Regions from separate parts of the Homo sapiens genome. Here region 2 is linked to region 1. The links are contacts of gene promoters, found by promoter capture Hi-C in blood cells and fetal thymus (Javierre and others, 2016). All regions are on one chromosome and are shown on one strand. Each heading gives the region's core, a stretch centred on a gene start or on the middle of the fragment in contact. The rest is flanking DNA. Distances are from core to core; before and after follow the strand shown. Region 1 holds the start of PSAP (prosaposin). Region 2 holds the start of C10orf105 (chromosome 10 open reading frame 105).

Region 1 (6,548 bases), core at 2,455-4,954:
CAATAACAACCTGTCAGGCTTCTCCCTTTCGGATGCCTCTCTCTCACAAGAGAGAGCTGCTCTCCTTTCTCCTTTCTTCTGCCTATTAAACTTTCTGCTCCAAAAAAAAAAAAAAGAAACAAAACAACCTGTCAAATGTACTTCAAGGACTTGACAAATCACTGATTTGTTAAAACAAACCCTTCTTTCTTCAGGAATTATACTCTTATTTTCACAGAATAAAACTGATTTACTATTAATAAACAGGAGATTTATCCAAAATCCCTGACAGGCCAAGACCTGAAGTTCCTACTGATATTCAGCAGGCCAGGCTATAAATTCACATGTTATTGAAAGAATATATATAACACCTTCTAGCATCCCCAGAAAACATAACTGTCTTAGCGTGGTGTAGACAACATTCAGCAGGCTAGCCACCACACAGCTGACAGCTATCAGGGCATCTAAGCTTCAGGGAGCACCTGCCACATCCCAGGCACCATCCCTCATGCCTTACACCTAGCTGATGAACACGCTCCTTTTTCCACCAGAGGACTCACCTAACAGCAATACCCTCCATGATCCCATTTGTAAAAGATCGAAACTGCAGCCTTCACATCTATGGTGTTCAAAGGTTAACAATGTTTCCTTCGGGGCAAGTGGGACAGGGCAGTGAATGGGTGAACAGGGGCCTCTGGATGCTACTGCACTGCTCCCCAACCTCGGGGGCTGCTCACTTTGTGGTAATTCATCAAGTTGTCTACTTAATCGTCCACGTATGTAACTTACACTAAGTTTTTAAAAGTTAAGAGGTCCATGTGGACAGAGGGATATGGAAAAAGCGAGCACTGTGGAGTCTTGGGTTCTGGTCCTGGCATCCCCAGTAAATGGTCTATGATTTGGGAGAGTCACCTCTGGGCACCTCCAGGTCTTCATTCCTTACAAAGGGGTCAGATTACATGCTCTCCAATTCTCTCATGGTGCCATGGCTTTGCTTTCGCTTTTAGGTGGGGAAAAAGGAGGGGCAGCTGGATGGGCAGAAAAGTAACTCAAAAGCAAGTGTCTCTACCACCAGGACATCACTGAAACACAAAATACAAAGCCCATCCCGATTCAGGGTGGCATTCTGTACTACGACAGTGTCACGAAGAAAGTTCTAAGTGCCTCTCGGGCAGCAGACAATGGCTGCAGTCACCAGGCACTTTCACTAACAAAACTCATTATCATGTCTAGAAATTTTAGGAGTAACATTTTCACAATATCACAAAGGGGCCAGAGCTGTGAAGGCCAGGGAGCATTCAAACACTGTTATCAGCACTGACTTTGGCCTAATCCTAAAGGTAGGACAGCAAAGTTAAACCAAGGCCATTACAATACCTCCCATTTACCCGAGTGTTCACGGAAGAGGGTCCCTTGGTTAACTAAATATTGTGGTTAACCATAAGCCCATATATACCAGAGGTGGATTTTATATTTCCCGAGACACGATTGAGTCCCTTTTGGGTGATGTGAATGAATCAGAACTCTTAAGGGTCTTGTGAGGAGTGACTCAACGTCAACAAGAACAATGGATAATGTAAAAAGAAAGAAAAAAAATTGCCCTGAATCAGTATAAAAAATTTAGAGACCAGCATTAGTTTATTATACAGACCATGGAATAACTGCAGTATAAGCTTGAGTATAAAATCAAAATGATTTTTTTATAAGCAGATCATCTTTCATTGTGTACAAGTAAAACAAATTTAAGAGCTTCGTATAGGGTCAAGATACATTCTTGAGAGCTGCTGAAAGCTAACTCATTTCTTCGGTTTTGCATCAACCCTGTCATCCACTTTGTTACTTTTTATTAAAATTTGGGTAGCTAGGTTAAAAATGGCAGCCAGCCCTTAAACTACATATAGTTACTAAAAAACAGACATTGTGGTGGGGGCTGGGTGCGGTGTCTCACGCCTGTAATCCCAGAACTTTGGGAGGCTGAGGCGGGAGAATGGCTTGAACCCGGAAGGCGGAGGTTGCAGTTAGCCGAGACTACGCCATTGCACCACTCCGGCCTGGGCAACAACAGCGAAACTCCGTCTCAAAAAACAAACAAACAAACAAAACAAACAAACAAAAAAAAAACGGCCAATAGCGTGCAAGACTTTCTTTTCTCTTTTTCTTTTTTTCACAGGTGGGGTCTTGCTATGTTGCCCAGGCTGGTCTCCAACTCCTAGGCTCAAGCGATCCTCCCACCTCGGTGTCCCAATGTGCTGGGATTACAGGCATAAGCCACCGCACCCAGATGCAAGACATTTCAAAGCAAGTGAAATGAGGACCCCATGGCAAAATAACTGGACCAGAAAACCCTATATCGCCTTCAATACCTATGAGAATTAAGCTCCGATTTTTTTTAGCTTGCCCAAATTCCTATCTAAGGGGTGTAGGAATCATACCCTACAAACCATAAACTCTCATCAGATGGGTTTTATTTGACCCCATATATCGTGACTTACTTTCCAATCTGACTCTGGCATAACATTTTATAAGACAAGGAAAAAAAAATCAAAATATCTAACCCCAAAATATATTTCCTTGCCATACCTTGAAATTGCCCTGCAAAGTCTCTTGTGGGAAAAATCCACATTCTATAGAGAATCCCCTTTCCCCTATGTTTTCCTTCCTTCCTCTCCAGATCCAGGAGATAATCAACTAAGAGCCAGTCACCCTTTCATTTCCATAGAAATATTTTACAACGTGCTCGCTCTCTTAGTCGGCTACCTGAGAGCTTCCTCTGCACAATAAAACTTGGTCTCCACAATCCTTTATCTTAACTTGAATACTTTCTTTCTATTGATTCTAGGTTTTCAGATAAACTCAACCAATTATCAACTAGAAAATGTTTAAATTTACCTATGGCCTGGAAGCCCCCCGCCGCTTTGAGTTGTTTCGCCCTTCTGAACCAAACCAACGTATTTCTTAAATGTATTTGATTGATGTCTCGTGCCTCCCGAAAATATGTAAAACCCAGCTGTATCCCAACCACCTTAGGCACATGTTCTCAGGACCTCCTGAGGGCTGTGTCACGGGCCATGGTCACTCATATTTGCCTCAGAATAAATCTCAAAATATTTTTACAGAGTTTGACTCGTTTTGTCAACACCTAGAATCCAGAGTAAATACATATGCAAACGTCAATATAGATGATACACATGTGCTTCCTGCAGCTTCGCTACCCTTACAAACAGGCAACTGAAGCCAACGGCCAAAGTGTCCTGCGGGACGGGGCTCCAGCCCACCTCGATCACGTGCGCCCAGCACAGGCACAACACAGCTGCCCAAGGGGTCACCCTACAAGACTCACCCACCCCCACAGTGGGAAGCGCAGCCTGAGGGAAGGCCTCGGGGCCCCAGCCGCGCAGGAACCCACTCGAGCCCCGAAGGAGATGCTGCCCAGGGCCTGGGCCGTCCTCCCGGGGGCATTTTCGCAGCCCGCCCCCCGCAGCCCCCAGCCGCCCAGAGAAAGCCAGAGAAAGCCAGCGAACGCGCCTGCGCAGTGCGCGCGCCCCCTTGCCAACTAGGGCAGGGGGAGCAGAGGGGCCAGGCCCGGCACAGCCCATTCTGGGGCAGATGGACGCTGCGAGGCACCTCCTCCCCAGGATGAGGGTCCCAGGGCTTACCCGCGCCCAGGAGGCTGGCCAGGAGGAAGAGGGCGTACATAGCGCCGTCTGACTCCGCAGTCTGCAATGCGGAGCGTCAGCTGATCCCCCGCAGATATAAATCTGCCCTGCCCCAAAGCCGTCCAGAGCGCAGGCGCTAACCCCGCCCCATCCGGGCCTGCCCGAGCTCAACAGCGCCCTGACTCAGCGCCTCTGAGGGCGCCTGCGCGAAGGGGAGGCCAATAGGAGGGGGCAATGGGAGGGGCGAAAGGAAGGGCTATGGGGAGGAGTGAGGAAGAACTTGGAGAAAGGGAAGGGAAAGGTCATAAAAGAAAAGCCCTACTAATTGAATAGGTCAGAGATTATATATGTAAAATACCTTTTAAATCTCCACATTGTTGGCCGGCCGCGGTGGCTGACGCCTGTAATCCCAACACTTGGGAGGCCGAGGCGGGCGGAGGGTTCAAGACTAGCCTGGGCAACGTGGTGAAACCCCATCTCTACAAAAAAAAAAATACAAAAAAATTAGCCCATTGTAGTAGCGGGTTTCACATAGAATAGCTTGGGGTTTCACATAGAATAAGTAGTCGTGTAACAGGGTACAGGGCTCAGTCCTGGCCAGGGGCACGTGGGGGCAGGTGGTGGCACCTGGTCAAAGGCAAGTCTGGGCTGGGCATGCTGGCTCACTCCTGTAATCCTAACACTTTGGGAGGCCGAGGCGGGCGGATCATGAGGTCAGGAGTTCAAGACCAGCCTGGCCAATATGGTGAAACCCTGTCTCTACTAAAAATACAAAAATTAGTCAGGCGTGGTGGCGCTCGCCTGTGGTTCCAGCTATTTCAGGAGGCAGAGGCAGGAAAATTGCTTAAACCCGGGAGGTGGAGGTTGCCGTGAGTCAAGATCGCACTACTGCACTGCAGCCTGGACCACAGAGCGAGAGAGATTCCCATCACCAAAAAAAAAAAAACAAAAAACTTTTAAGCCTCACATTGTGGTACCGTTAAAGATGTAATACCATTCCTCACCCATCATAAGAGATCATAAGAGTCACAACCAACACTCCTGTAACGAGACAGCTTAAGAGAAAAGCATAACAAATTTATGTAATCAACGTTTTATGTGACATGGAAGCCTTCAGAAATTAAGACCCAAAGACCCTCTGCCTGTGGCTGCCCCTGCCAGGACCTGAACAGAGAATGATGATGACCCTCTCCAGAAGGATAAGAACCTGCCAACCGCAAGGCAGGGAAAGGAGGGGAATCTTAGCCCCTTAGGGCAGGCACTTAGAGGTCATTTACCTGTAGGGACATTGAGCCTAGGAGAGGGCAAGACGTTTATCCAAGGTCACACAACAGGTAGAGATAGAACCTGGCCCGAAGCCAGGTTTCCTGACCCAGGAAGGGCAAACCTACAGTTCCTCCAACTTCCTCCAATCTGCAATCCGCTCTGGAGAACAACCCCAGGGACTAAGGCCTCAGAACCTTCAGTTCTGCTCCCCTGCAATCTCCCTAAGTGCCCCCAGCCCCCACCACAGCTCTGACTTCCTCTGGGGAGCCAGATGGGGAAGTGTGCCCCATGCACCACAGTGGGCCATGTGAGGCAGCTGAGTGAGTTGGGACAAGATGTGGTCTCAACTGGACGCCTCACAGGTCGGCCTCAGTGGCCAGATGGAGACTTCGTGGCTGCTCCACCTTTGGGCTTCCCAAGGCCAGGCAGAAGCGTGGGGCAGACCACACAACAACTGGTTAAAAGCAAGGGAGCTAGCCGGGCGCGGTGGCTCACGCCTGTAATCCCAGCACTTTGGGAGGCCGAGGCAGGCAGATCACGAGGTCAGGAGATCGAGACCATCCTGGCTAACAGGGTGAAACCCCGTCTCTACTAAAAATACAAAAAATTAGCCGCACGATGTGGCGGGCGCCTGTAGTCCCAGCTACTCGGGAGGCTGAGGCAGGAGAATGGCGTGAACCCGGGAGGCGGAGCTTGCAGTGAGCCGAGATCGTGCCACTGCACTCCAGCCTGGGCAACAACAGCGAAACTCCGTCTCAAAAAAAAAACAAACAAAAAAAGCAAGGGAGCTGGGGCTCTAGGACAAATCCCCCATCCTTCAGCTCCTTGCAGATGGAGGAGCAAAGCATCCCAGTGCTCCATGCAGAGGTTACAGGACCCCAAGCCAAAAGGACGCTCAGAGACCTCAGATCATCCCCTCTCATCTTATAGAGCTACTGACATCTCAGGGCTGGTTAACAACAGAGCCTGAACCAGGACTTGTTTTTTTTGTTTTGTTTTGTTTTGTTTTGTTTTGTTTTTTGTTTGGAGATGGAGGCTCACTCTATCACCCAGGCTGGAGTGCAATGGTGCGATCTCAGCTCACTGCCACTTCTACCTCCCAGGTTCAAGCAATTCTCCTGCCTCAGCCTCCAGAGTAGCTGGGATAACAGGTGCACGCCACCACACCTGGCTAGTTTTCTTGTATTTTTTGGTAGAGACAGGATTTCACCATGTTGACCAGGCTGGTCTCAAACTCTGACCTGAAGTGATCTGCCTGCCTTGGCCTCCCAAAGTGCTGGGATTACAGGTGTGAGCCACCACACCCCTCCTTTTTTTTTTTTTTAAATATTCCTCCTTCATACCTAGAGGAATATGTCAGTGTTTTTGAGAGAAACTTTTGCTGCCTTTCATCTCCTCACCTGTAACTCAACAGTAATATGCTGCTTCATCCGCCTCGTCCTGAACCCCATGAGGACAGAATTTTAACAAAGAATATAAAAGCAATAAGTAGATTATTATTAATTTTTTTACCTTGTCAGTAGACGCTTAAATCCTCTTAAAAAAAAAAAAAAAAAACCTTCTGAACCATCTGCGTGTAGGCAACAAGAGCTGTGAAGCTCCTCAAACCCTCTGGCTCTCTTATGCCTTTCCTAGCTATGTACCCTC
Region 2 (6,446 bases), core at 1-2,500, 130 kb before region 1:
GGGTGAGGTGTGGAGCTGCTGTGAGCTGTCCTCCTCCGAGTCCAGGTGGCATCACCTCCAGCTGCTGGAAATGCCCTGCCTCTTGCCACTCTGTCACAGCACCCGCCCTGGCCTCTGAAGGGAGCCTCCTCGATCATCTTCAATCCCTTCCTGATTGATCCCAACGTGGGTGCCCTGAAGAGGGGCCACCAAGACGGCTGCCAAGACCATGCTTGGAGAGCCCTGTTTGCTCCTCCTCCCAGCTGGCACCCAGGCATCTGTTCCACCAGGAGGGAGGCAGCTGCTCCCACAGGGCACCAGGCAGATGCTGGCAGCACCCGGGAAACCCAAGGAAGAGAGCCCCGAGGTTTTGCCCCAGCACTGGGCCAGCACAGATGCCAGGACAGTGTCTTGGCCCCGGTGTAGGCTGAGCATTTCACTTGACTAAAGGGAACCTTTGCCATTTGGCAACTTCTCCATGCTGGGCTTTGGCACCTGGAGGGCAAGGCTTCTGTGGCGAGCGAGGGTGCTGCTTCTAGGAGGTGGTTACGAGCCCCAGGTTGTACCCTGTGGAGCCTCAGGCCAAAGGCCCAGATGACCACGAGTGCACATCTCTTGACCAGAAGTCTTTCATCAAGCAGCAGCGAGGGGGTCTGCAGAGAGGAAGGTGCTCTTCTGAGGATCATCTTTGGGAAAGGGCGCTGGCCTGGGCATGCAAGGAGCTTCGGGGGGTGAGTGTGTGTCCCAGACTGCTTGGGCCACTGTCTTCCTGCAGCCTGCAGCACCGGTCTCTGAAGCAGGAGGATCTACAGGTAGACCTAGGGGGATGTGGGGGCATGTTTGTGGACACCCCATTACATCTTGGTAGATTCCATGTAGTCACAGTGGCTGCGGTTGTCCTCGGGGCCCGGCAGGGGCTGTCGAGGGACGGTGGGCCGGCCATGGCGGAAGCTGTGCAGGGAGAGGCGCAAGGAGCCCAGGCGCTTCCAGAGCCGGAGCTGGGGCTCACTGGGGCTCCCAGGGTGGTGGGGCATGCACTCGTGAGCCCTGCGGCGGCTCGGGTCCAGCGCGGCCGGCTTGCAGAGCGTCATGAACAGCAGACAGGTGGCCAGCAGGAGGAAGATGCAGGCCAGGGCGATGAGCATGGGGAGGGGGTCAGTTGCCTCTGCAAGGGTCCCGGGAGTGACGGGAGCTGAGAGAAAGGCGAGGGGGCTGATGGCTGGGGAGCTGGCGAGGCTGGGGCCCTCTGTGCTCATGGCTCCTGCAACAGCAACAAGACAGAAGCTCAAAGGCAGATCAGCTGGACCCAGGGCAGCGGGTATAGGGAAGACTTACCTAGGGAATGTGGATGGGGGCAAGGCACTGTTAAACTGGACAGCATCATGGCCACATCACAGGTTAAGACAGCAAGGTCCAGAGACATCACAAGTCTAAGTGTACACACAGCTGAGCAGTGATGGAGCTGGGCCCAAGCTCAGGCCCTCTTCCTGTTCCACCCTGTGCCCATCTGCCATGCAGACAAGAGGGCGGTGGCCTGTCCGCATTTTCAAATCAATCCTCATGAATCATCACAGGGTCTTAGGCCTGGAAACTTAAGACCAACTCTGTCAATAACTTGCTCTGTGGCCAGGAACGAGTTATGGATGGTAAGAGGCCGCAGCTGCCAGGGTCCCTAGCAGTAATCTAATACCAAAGCTGCAAACTGGGGGCCCACGGGTGTGTTTAGTTGGGTCCTTGCCATGTTTTTATCAATGTAATTATGAATATTTTCAAAATAATAACAGATTTCACAAAAATATATGGGTGCCTGAATTCTCTTGAAATGTCAGAATTTCACCACTGGCATTGGCCCATGTTCCTGCCTCATCCCTGTGTCTGGGGCTGAGCAGCCGCTGCCCCCTGTAGACAGGGCACTGACCTCCAGCTCCCCACCCTCCCCCACAGGCCCACCACACACCTTATTTCACCTGCCTGGCCCCGTGGGGATTCCTGTGACTGCTTCCCCATGCAGTCCAACTTGCTCCCACGACAGGTGGGAAACTGAGGTCCGAAGAGGGGATTTGGCATTAGGGAGCCAGTGAAGGTTTTAGAGGTGGGGAGTGACAAGCCAGAGCTCACTCCTTGGGAAGGCTTGGCTGGCTGCATTGTGGGTCACAGTAGGGTGGGGTGGGGCAGCTTGGTGGTGGGAAGGCCAAGGCCACATTGTGAGCCAATGGCCAAGTGAAGGTCAGAAGCAGGTCTCCTGACTCCTGGCCCCATGGCCTTGCCACCCCTCTGGCCCCCAGCCCTTTCGGAGCTCAGTGAGCTGCTCTGGGAACAGGTGGGAAATAAACCCACAAGGAGTTGACAAGGGGGCTGGAAACCCCCCAGGGACATCATACACCTGACAGGGCATTTCCTTTCCCACTGAAGATCATCCCATTAGACGCAGTGCAGCAGACGGTCCTTGTCGATGGAAAACCAGGCTGAGCTTTTGGCTCAATATGTCTGGGGTTGTAATAAAAATGCTCACAGATCCTGGCCAGCAGATAACACATGACCAGAGGGTACAGATGAGCAGGGCCACCTGGAGAGCACTGGCTGGGCCCTCTCAAGGAAGTGGAGGGGCCTCAGCCCAGAATGGTGCTGTCAGTGCCGGAGTGCAGGCCCAGTGTGGTCAGCTCTGTCAGTTTCCCAAGAGAAGCCAGAAATCTGGATTTTTTTAAAGGCAAACATTCTAGACGTTTAAATGTTGGCAGCTAATTCAAATTTGTTGAAGGCAAGAAAGAAGAGAGGTGGGGTGGGGGAGAACACAGCAAAAGCCAAATAAACTTGATTTCAAAATAATGTGAAATGAATTTTCAAATATTTGAAACACTACACAGGCCAAACCAAACACATAAGCAGAGGACGTCCAGCTTGCAGGTCAGCATGTGTGATATTTAAATTCTACTGACGTGGACAAGCAATCCCAGGGGGTCTGATAAAAAGTCATGATTTCCCTTTAACCTTGGGGTCTTTCCTTTTCATGAGGGTGGGGGATAGCAGATTTTCCTCCTTCCCAGCTTGCAGCTTAGATAACAGTTGAGTTTCTAGCACGGAAGCTCAGGAGGAGGAAAGATGTCAGGTCACGCTCAGAGAAACCCTGCCACAGGTAGTGGGGAGGGGAGTGGGCCACCTAGTTCCCCACCCGAGGGACTCCTGTCCCTACCCCAGGCACTCACCAGCAGCCGCAGGACCTCACTCCTGGCTCCCTGCGCCCAGCCAACTGAGGGCATGCAGAGCACCCCACCTCCCACCCATTCCCCACCACCACCCCTCCCAGCACTTCCAGGCAGAAAACGACCCCTCCCAGTGCCTGGCTGGAAAGTGTGATGCCCGTCTAGCTGCCCAGGGCCTCCGCCTTTGCGGCATCAGGCCTAGAGAGCACTCTGGCTGGGCAGCTGTGCATGGGTTGGCCTTTCCTTGAGTCTGAGCAGGGAGGAGGGATGGGGTGTGCCCACCGCTCATTCCCGTGGGGAGAAAATCAGCCATCCCTCTCTCCTACCCTGGACAATGCTTGGCCAGGAGTAAGAAAAGGGCAGTCTGAAATGGGAGATGCCTCAATCCTACTAGTTCTAATGTTATTTCAAGGCCTTCAAAGGAATCTGGAGACCCTACTGGGCTAGCAAATAGGATCCAGGCTTCAGGCCTTGGGACCTGCTTTAATTTAAAAAATAAGTGAGGCCAGGCGTGTTGGCTCTCACCTGTAATCCCAGCACTTTGGGAGGCCAAGGCAGGAGGATCACTTGAGCCCAGGAGTTTGAGAACAGCCTGGGCAACATAGTGAGTCTTCATTTCTGAAAGAAAAAAAAAAAAGGTTTTTTAATTAGCCAGGTGTGGTAGTATGTGCCTGTGGCCCCAGCTACTCAGGAGGCTGAGGCAGAAGGATCATTTGAGCCCAAAAGTTTGAGGCTACAGCGAGCTAGAATCATGCCACTGCGCTACAGCCTGAGCGACAGAGCAACACTCTGTCTCAAAAAAATAAAAAATAAAAAAAAAATAAGTGGAGTTGTAATTAGCATCTGAGTAGTTCCTGTGGCAACGAGAGATTCCTAAGTGCTTGAAAACAACACAACACCCTTCCTGGAGCACGAGGCAAGTCCAGCTGCCAGGCCCCTTGACACCCGGCTACTGACCAACCAGCAAAGGCCAGCTAGTACTGGGAGAGGATGCCTTGCCCGGACCAAGGCCAGGAATCATCTGGAGGGCAGTTGAAGCCACTCCCTTCCCACTGGGGCCAGGGTGCACCAGCGGGCCCTGCTCTGGACATATCTCTGCAAGCTCAGTCTAGGACCCTCCTCTTCCCTTGGAGTTCCACAGAGCAGGACCTGCTGTGGGCAGAGAAGACTGCTGTGTGGCCTCGGGCTAGTCCCTACCCCTTACTGGGCCTTGTTTCCCCTCTCTACAGAACCAGAGGACTGCCTAGGTCTGAGCATACCCTCACATTCTCCCAGGAGTCCCCAGCAAGGGTCTCCACCACACTTCCCTCTCCAAGCCTTCTCCTGCAGTCCCCCAAGCACTGACCTCAGAGCCAGACCCCAGCCGTCCGGAGCTCCGTGGAGAGGTCTTCTCAGCTGTGGAAGGGAGGCCCAAGGAGCCCTGGGCAGTGCCTGTGACCCCAGCCCTGCCAGGCTCTGCTGTGCCCTGCAGCCCTCGGTCAGCCTGGCCAGCAGAGTGGCCTCCCCGTCACTCCCCAGCTGGACCTGGCTTTGTCTAGAAGAGTTTGGGCCCTGCCTTGGGGGAGGGGATAGCTAAGGGAGTAGGGATGGCAACTGGGTTGGGAAGAGGGAGAGGGGAGCTGTCCAGAGACTCTGGGATGCCCCCTGGCCTTCCCACCGCCTCTCTCCAGCCTGTCTCCTTGGAGCCCTCTCAGGGGTGGAAGACTCTGGGGAGACGCAGGGGGAGGGTTTTACTGCCTCTGCGGCCCCATGGCGCTCACCTTCCCCTGTCGGAAGTTTGAATGGTATGGTCGGCGGCAGCCAGAGGTTCGCTATTCAGTGCCTGCCAGCCACCAGGTTACCCTGGAGAGGGGCTACAAGCCATGGCAGGAGGGGAGCAGGGAGAGTGCTGGTCCCTGGCAGCCCCTGAGGCCCCTCCTGCAGCGTCCCTGGGCCCCATTCCTTCCAGGCTTTTCCCTCAGCTTGTAGAAAAGCACCTTCCCTTTGAAGGTGTCTGGCTACAGAAGCGAGGGGTGAGGGGCATCTTCAAAGGTCAGGGGGATCCCAGGGCAGAAAGCATAGGACTGACGGACCTCCAAGGCCATGCTCCCCACAGTGCGGGTGGGCCACGGGAGACCTCCACTGGAGGCTCTTTCCAAAACACACACACACACACACACACACACACACTTCCCTCCCCCAGCCTTCTTTCTCCCCAGAAGCCAGAGCTTCCCTGACAACCAGCTGCCTGCTTAGGAGCCCAAGTCTTTGGCAGCTTCCCCACCAGGGACCTCCAAGCTCCCAGAAATGCAACTCAAGACAGGAGTCATGGCCCTGTCCAAGACCTGAGCCTCAGACCCATTCCCTTTTTTGGAGCCCCAGTTTCTGGTTTTTAGCTGTTCCCTCCTGCCCTTGCCCATAAAAAGAGGCACTGTCTGCCAACCCCAAGATGGACAAGAGATTTCCTATGGACTGTTAAAGCTGGAGAGGTCCTCAGGGGTCATCTAACTCCTCTTCTGAGAGAAAAGAGCCCCCGTCTTCTCTCAGATGACCAAACTGAGGCCCAGAGAGGTGTGACCTGCCCAGGGGCACCCAGCAAGTGAGTGGTGGGGGACTTGGTGTTTCCCCTGTGCTGGGTGGGCAGGGGCAGGCAGTAGGCATCCAGGGTAGGCAAAGCATCCGGCCCAAAGGTGTTTTCAATGCCCAGAGTCCCCATTGGGATTCCTGCACCTTCCATCACAGCATTCACTGCCTTCATTTTCCTTAACTTCCTCTCCTGAAACCAACTGAACACTTCATCTGTGGCCCCCATTCCTCCTGAGATGACAGAAGACAAAGCTTCCAGGGTGGTGCAGGCTGCTGGAGCAGGGAGGCATCAAGGAAATCTCACCATGGATAGGCATGCAAGGGCATGCTCTGGGCAACGTGGCTCTCTTCACCATCCTGAGCCCTTCCAGATCTGGACAATTGAAGCACCCTGTTACATCCCTCCACCTGCCAGCTCCTAAGGTTTCTCAGGGAATGGAGAGAGAAAGAACTGCACGGCAAGGGGCAATCCAGCCATCCCCAGCTCTGGCATAAATCCAGAGGGCTCTCTGGAGAAGGTGGCATCACTCATGTTGACCTTCACCACACATCCCCATGCTAGGCACCAGCCAAGACGCTTTGCAAGATGACTTCTGATCTTCCCCTCAACCCTGCAAGGCTGGTCATCATTGTGCCCAGTCTAGAGATGAGAAAACTGAGGCTCAAGGGGGCTAAAGTACTTATCCATAGTGCCATAGAGAG

Evidence for each region. Contacts are between HindIII fragments. The CHiCAGO score rates a contact against its expected background, and 5 or more counts as called.
Region 2: a fragment that was not itself captured here is called in contact with the fragment with the promoter of PSAP in region 1 in 1 of 17 cell types (neutrophils); the score reaches 5.1 in neutrophils.

The regions. Positions count from the first base shown.
Region 1 is chr10:71,847,547-71,854,094 of GRCh38, forward strand. It overlaps PSAP (prosaposin), which reads right to left and starts at 3,705. Exons shown (of 14, transcript NM_002778.4): 1 at 3,636-3,705. The coding sequence starts at 3,675. RefSeq lists enhancers at 1,964-2,463, 2,855-3,385, 3,386-3,916. The HindIII fragment of the contact is 9,568 bases long and covers 1,651-6,548 here.
Region 2 is chr10:71,715,103-71,721,548 of GRCh38, forward strand. All of the region lies in intron 28 of CDH23 (cadherin related 23), which reads left to right. It overlaps C10orf105 (chromosome 10 open reading frame 105), which reads right to left and starts at 4,676. Exons shown (of 2, transcript NM_001164375.3): 1 at 4,525-4,676; 2 at 1-1,240. The coding sequence starts at 1,235. The coding sequence ends at 834. RefSeq lists a silencer at 1,951-2,148 and an enhancer at 4,065-4,813. The HindIII fragment of the contact is 9,488 bases long and covers 1-5,994 here.